2 separate regions of the Homo sapiens genome follow, and region 2 is linked to region 1. The links are contacts of gene promoters, found by promoter capture Hi-C in blood cells and fetal thymus (Javierre and others, 2016). All regions are on one chromosome and are shown on one strand. Each heading gives the region's core, a stretch centred on a gene start or on the middle of the fragment in contact. The rest is flanking DNA. Distances are from core to core; before and after follow the strand shown.

What was found. The method cuts DNA at HindIII sites, captures the fragments that hold promoters and counts their contacts. A CHiCAGO score of 5 or more calls a contact.
Region 2: a contact is called between a fragment that was not itself captured here and the fragment with the promoter of CYB5R4 in region 1, in 1 of 17 cell types (naive CD8 T cells). The highest score is 6.7, in naive CD8 T cells.

Annotation. Positions count from the first base shown.
Region 1 is chr6:83,858,178-83,861,562 of GRCh38, reverse strand. It overlaps CYB5R4 (cytochrome b5 reductase 4), which reads right to left and starts at 1,874. Exons shown (of 16, transcript NM_016230.4): 1 at 1,706-1,874. The coding sequence starts at 1,780. The region is part of intron 3 of RIPPLY2-CYB5R4 (RIPPLY2-CYB5R4 readthrough); the gene reads right to left. RefSeq lists a silencer at 1,754-1,803. The HindIII fragment of the contact is 3,476 bases long and covers 669-3,385 here.
Region 2 is chr6:85,318,310-85,321,614 of GRCh38, reverse strand. No RefSeq gene overlaps it. Among named protein-coding and RNA genes, the nearest start is that of LINC02535, 85 kb to the left of the region's middle. The HindIII fragment of the contact is 637 bases long and covers 1,293-1,929 here.

The sequences.
Region 1 (3,385 bases), core at 625-3,124:
AGTACCCAGAGAAAACCCACGCAGACACAGAGCATGCAAACTCCAAAGACAGTGGCCCTGGCCAAAACGAATTTTTTTTCTCATCAATATTATAACTAAATGCTGTTGAATGAAACAACACTATTTGAGAACCTTTTGTATAATACACGACCTTCCCAACTTGGTTCTATTTTCTCAACCTCTACCCATTTCATCCAAACCTGACTCAGTTTTTACATTCTCAGCATCATCTTGTTTCACAAAGAAAAGAGGAAGAAGACTGGAGTCTGACTTTTCCTTAGAATTGCACAATAATCTTATTTTGTTCTCTTTTTGGACCAAAAACTCACCTTTGCCATCGCCCCCTGTGTGACTTTTTGTCTTTGCTTCTAAGTTTTCTCCTTTAAATGGATGCTAAGAACACAGTTGGTATTTTTAACGAAGAAGGGCAGTAACTCATATTCTAATTCAGAGATTCTTTCTGGAAAGACTGTTATTCAGTCAAGTATTTAGCTTCAAGAAATAGGTCAAAAACCAATGAGAAAAATATACATGATTGGATGGCTAGATGATTGATATATGAATCAGTAAATGAAATTTCACAGCAGAACCACAACACAAGCCTACGCAATTTAGGGCAATATTTCTTAGCCAGTTTCCTTTTCTGCGAAATAGAGACAATAAAAGCTTTCACTTCAAAGGATAATTGTGAAAATTAAAGTTAATACATGCAAAGCACTGAGAATATACACGGCCACCCGTAAGTACTTAAGAAATCTCTGGAAAGCTAATGAAAACCACAGATCCCTGAACCTATATTCATTCTGAACTAGAATCAGAACGCCAGGTCTAAGTGGAGAAAAATAAGAAAATCGATAAGGGTTCCAAACGATGCTAAGACTCAAGAGTTAACCGAGTGGCCCAAGTTAAGTGGAAGTGTCACAAACGAAAGATAAAGATATGGTTACAGAATGAGGAACTAACAAATAGGAACAAACAACATTCGCAAAAGAACAAAGAACACAATTTTTATTGAATTCTGCAAATATAAAATATATCTGTACAGTATTCCACCTGTTGCTAACAGCAACTGTGCTCAACAAGAACTCAAGAGTATTATTATATTTGCTTCGAAGTTAGCAAGTGATACTAGTAGAAAAGGCAATGACAAAACAATCAGGTACCAGAGGAAGAAAGAAAGGCAGTATGTCTTGGATAGTGTCTGTAAACCTGACCTAGCTCCCCAACTCCAGAAGTCCCCATCCTTGCACGGACGGTCACTGTCGCCACTGCCAAGCCTTTCCCTCCTGCGAGGGAACCCACATCGAGTGATGTGGTACAACTCCTTCAGGCAGTGAAGAACAAAAGACCAGGGAGAAGATGAGGTTGAGGGAAGGCGGCTAATACCGAGAGCCTATAATACCGCAAACACAGTGCCTGGCTCTGTCATATAAATTTAAATCGCGGGAAAGGACTTGGAGGAAGGGAACGGATAGAGCGGGATAAAGGACCAGAAAGAAGAGGGACTGCTAGGGGAAAGGGAGGAGGTAAGGAGAGTTTAGGGACTGTAGACAAAGTGGGATCAGAAAGAGGTTGCAGGCAAGGACAGCAGGGAACGACAGCTTAGAGAGGGGTGCAGGAGCTGGGAGTTGGGGCGGAAGAAGAGAACACACTGCCAGAGCTCGAAACGCAGCGAGGGGAGAGACTCACGGAGCCACCCGCTTACCTTGCTACGCCCCCCGGAGGCGACACGCTGCTGCGACCTGGGGGCCGGGAAAGACTGGGAAGGGACGTTCAGCATCTTCAAACCCCGGCCCCGGGCCCTGCCCGGGGATCGCCGCCAGACGGGACAGCACCTCCAGCTCCGGCTCTGTGGCCGGGCAGAGGCCAAGCCCCCGACCCACTTCCGGGGTCGCCAGGGGTGAGGCGCATTCTGACGCAGCACGTCCGCGGAGGGCGGAGCCAACGGGACGGAGGGAGGGCCGGCAGGGAGGAAGTACGCATGCTCAGCTAGTTCCGCATCCCGAACTTCAGCACCGGAGCAAGGTGACAGCTATTTCGTGGAAAGATTAGAGAGTGAAGCTGTTCCTTAGCCTTGGTGCTGACCGAATGTGGGAACAAATTCTTAGTCCTGTTAACCCGGAACAGCAATGTCTGTTCATTGTTAAGCAGTACCATCACACTACTTGAAATATGGACTAAAACACACTACTTGAAATATGGACTAAAACGAATTTTAGTTTCTCTGAAATTCTTTCCTGTAAGGCACTAGGCTGTAATGCAAAGAGCATCTCACACCTTTAAGAGCAAAAATATCAAATGTCAACAGCCACTACTGTGGGGTAAGAAGAAAACCTCACCTTTAATCATCCTTAAACTTCACCTTTAAGCATGCTGAGGGCTAATGAATGCGCGAAAGACGTTAGTAAAGTCACCTTCTGCTCTATTCACCCACTCACAAATTCTCCCTCCTTATGTAACTTCCTGTCTTCACTGGGAATTGTGTACTGATGCAGCTCACCTCCAGCTGTGGTGATGAAGTAACGTTTAAAAGTCAGATTTGGTTTGCATGCCATCCCTGCACTTAATGACTGAGCTGTCTTATGCAAGTTACTTTAGTATCTCAAAGTCTCATTTTCCCCATCTGCATAATGGGTTTATTAAAGATTAAAGGATCATGTGTAAACTACATACTGCAGTGCCTGATTAATATTAGGTACTGAATAAGTGGCAGTGGCTGTTTGTGCTATTCCAACATATTAATGGGAAAAGGACCAACACTGTGCAGGTAAACACCAGGCTCTAATGCTCAAAATCTGATGGTTTTTGTTTGTTTGATTGATTGTTTTGTGTGTCCCTTGGGGAACACATAGATCTTGAGAGTAGAATCCAATAAGGGAGAAAGTTTTCAGGAGAAGAAACATAGTTCTAAATAATCCTCCCCATCCTCCTTTAATTACTAATTTTTCCTAACTCTGAACATATTGTCATGCTTTAAACTTTCTCTGTTTAACTACTTAGTTCTTAAAGTGCCTAAAAAATCAAGGTTATGTTTGCAGAATCAGAAGAAAAAGTGTGTGACTATATGTGGCCATTCAAATACAAGCATTCAAATAAGGTAGCCACCTATGACATTCACCTCTATCCATTTTTATTTGCAATTGAAATGCTTATTATGAGAAGACTGAATTTGAGCTAAAAGAACCTCATGACTATAATTAACTGTATTACTTTGACTTTGCAAATTGCTTCTGTGTTCTCTCTCATTAAATGATGACATATTCTTCTAGAGTCTACACAAGAAAAACTAATCACTGAGATTTATTTCACTTCTCGTGAGAAAACTTTTACATAAGAATATCAAAAGCAGAGAACCAGAGCAAGGAAAAGTTAATATTGTTGAAGA
Region 2 (3,305 bases), core at 362-2,861, 1.5 Mb before region 1:
GATTAGAATTGATTCTCTTCATCTTGGCCTTAACATTCTACTTTAAATAAACGTAGAAACGTATTCTGAATCTCTCTGAAAAACCCAAAGCAAAGGACCTGAGAGAATGTACCATTCTAGGGTATTGCAAATGTACTTACTTGAATCCATTTATTTAATGCCTCCTGGCACCCAATTCCACCAAGGTAGTTTGGTTTTTCTGTTAACATTAAAAATTCACCCCAAAAGAACTAACAAACCCAAAATCCAAGTGTCTTACAGAAACTGTCTTTTTCTTTGTAGGTGCTTCTTGCTTGAAACAAGAGGATCTTGTGGCTTGATAAAATGTTTGGAATACCCAAGGAGGGCCTCCTTTTGAAGGCTTATGCAGTGCAGCCTCTCTCAAGATCTCAGTTTACTCAGAGAAGAAAGGTGAACTGCATTTGTTCCAAGTAAAATATACATCTGTATTATTCACCATCACACCCCTATTCCATTACAAACAAATACTGACCTTGTTCTTCTGATGTGAAGCCAGAGGGAGTGTGAAATATAGCAAGGAGAACAGTCTGATGCAGAAATATGAAAGTTCCAAGCAACAGAAACGCGGTATTTAAAAGGAGTAGAGAAGGGCCCCAACTTGGTCTTTCTAATTCCTTCTCTGCAGCTGACCCTGGGGAAAGTAACTCAATAGTTATCAGTCGCTTTGGGGAAACTGCCTACATTAGTTCAGATTGCCAGTTGGATTTTTTCACTCTAGGATCTATGTGTTGGTAGTCTCTCTGTTTTTTCTTTTGGCCTTAAGAACTTCTCTTGAGAACGCTCTGTGTGTGTGTGTGTGTGTGTGTGTGTGTGTGTACATGAACTTTTGACCTAAGTACTAGAAACCAGTTTCCATTTGGATGCCAAGCACGTTTCCTCCTTTTAGCAGGGCTGGGAGCTACCGCTTTGTGATTTCTCTCATCACGATGTTCTAGGAAAAGGCTTTTGAATGGTGGAGAAACTCAGCTAACATTACATTAGAAGAAAGACGGGGAACACAGTTTGGGAGAATATGTACAAGATATGAGATTTTGATGTTCAATGAAAACCATACCCAATGTTTTCTCTTGTAAAGTGGGGTAAGATGAGGATTAAATGAGATAATATAGTTGTTTCTCCTACAGTGCCATATACATCTTTCTAAAAAATAAATGTAATGTAGAATTTCATGCAATAAAAATGATGAGCCTTCTGGGAAAAATTTAATTGGGTGAAACACAACACCTGTATAGTCTAGTAAGGAATACTCTTCTAAAACCCTAATAAAAGCTTTAAAAATCTCAAGTCCCTTATAAAATTTAAAAAATACCATGGTACATAAGTGCTTCACCTTACAGAAAGCACAAGGTTTGCTTGGTGAGTCGTAAGTGCACAGTGGGGGCTTCTGAGTTATGGAGAAGGAGGAAAATAGTAGGACAAAATGCTATTGCACTAAAGGTGCTATGGTTTGTCCTGTTTACCTTTTACATTAATTTAAAATAGAAATGCAGAAGTTGTTGTTAGGCCATTTTCTCCTTTCTTTAAGAAGCTGCATATATGGCCTCAAGTGATATGGGAGACTGCTAGGCAGTGGGTGCTTTGCTCAGTGGGGTAATTGTTTTCAATACCTGTGGGTGCACATCAGCCCAATTATAGTGGCATATTTCCCTCTGGTGACAGTTACTGGACTTTTGTTATCATGGTCTACATCATCATCAACATTATTTATACCTTCCTCAGGCTTAATCAAGAGATGTTGCAGCTCTCATAGTTGTTCCTGCTGAATAGCTTTCTTTTATTTGAGATGTATTGTCACTGATGGCACACAATATGGATTCTGTTAGATCTCTTGTTCTTGTGCTATCACAAGTTCTCTTGTGTATTTGTAAATGTTTCAGTGTTCCAAAAAATGTTTTGTTGTTTTAAGCTTCTTCTCAAGACTTAAGGCATTCCCTTCTCATTTGCTACTTGGATTCATCTGCTCAGGATGCTTATTCCTGTTTGGGATGTTGGAGTAAATATTTTTAGCAAGAAAGTTTGAGAGGACAGCACTGTATACACACTCATAGGGCAAAGCCTGCAGGTCAAGTGGGGTAAGGGAGAAAAGATGAGGAGGTGTGTTTGTGTTTCTCCCATGGTCATTGCATTCAAGGGGTCGGCATTTCTTCATTTACTTGGTGCTGCTAGGTGGTGTAAATCATAGTCACCTTGTAAAACATTGCATATGAGCTATCATGATTTTGTGTCTTGGGGACTGTATCCCTGATTTATCTACATCATATGAATGAATATGCACAGTACAGAGAATGTAATGGCCTATCTTTTGTATTAGGCCATTCTTGCACCGCTATAAATAGATACCTGAGACTGGGTAATTTATAAGAAAAGAGATTTAATTGGCTCACAGTTTTGCAGGCTATACAGGAAGCATGGTGCTGGCATCTGCTTGGTTTCTAAGGAAGCCTCATGAAGTTTGAAATCATGGCAAAAGACAAAGTGGAAGCAGCACTTCACATGGTGAAAGCAGGAGCAAGGGAGAAAGAATGGCTGGCCAGGGGGAGGTAACATATACTTTTAAACCAACAGATCGTGTGTGAACTGAGTGAAAGCTCACTTATCACCATGGGGCCCAAGACATACATGAAGACATACATCCCCATGATCTAAATACCTCTTGTCTGGTCCCCTCTTGTCCCCCAAATTTCATATCCTTCTCATATTGCAAAATACAATAATTCCTTCCCAACAGTTTCCCAAAGTCTTAACTAATTCCAGCATTAATTCAAAAGTCCAAAGTCCTAATTTTTATCTGGAGATGAGTTACTTCCACCTTTGAAGCCATAAAATCAAAACAAGTTATTTACTTCTAAGATACAATGAGGGTGTAGGCATTGGGTAAACATTTTCATTCCAAAAGGGAGAAACTTTCCAAAAGAAAGGGGCTAGAGGCCTGATGCAAGTTCAAAACCCAGCAGGGCAGTCATTAAATCTTAAAGCTTCAAAATAGTCTCCTTTGACTTCATGTCTCACATCCAGGGCACATTGGTGCAAGGCAAGGGTTCCAAGGTATTGGGCAGCTTCACTGCTGTGACTTTGCAAGGTTCAGCCCCCAGGGCTGCTATCACAAATTAGAATTGTGTGCCTCTGGCTTTTTCAGGCACAGGGCACAAGCCACTGGTGGATGTACCATTCTGGGGTCTGGTGGAGGGTGGCCCCCTTCTAACAGCTCTACTAGTCAGTGCTCCAGTGGGGACTTTGTGTGGGGCCCTCAATCCTACATTTCCTGCCCCCCTGCACTTCCATAT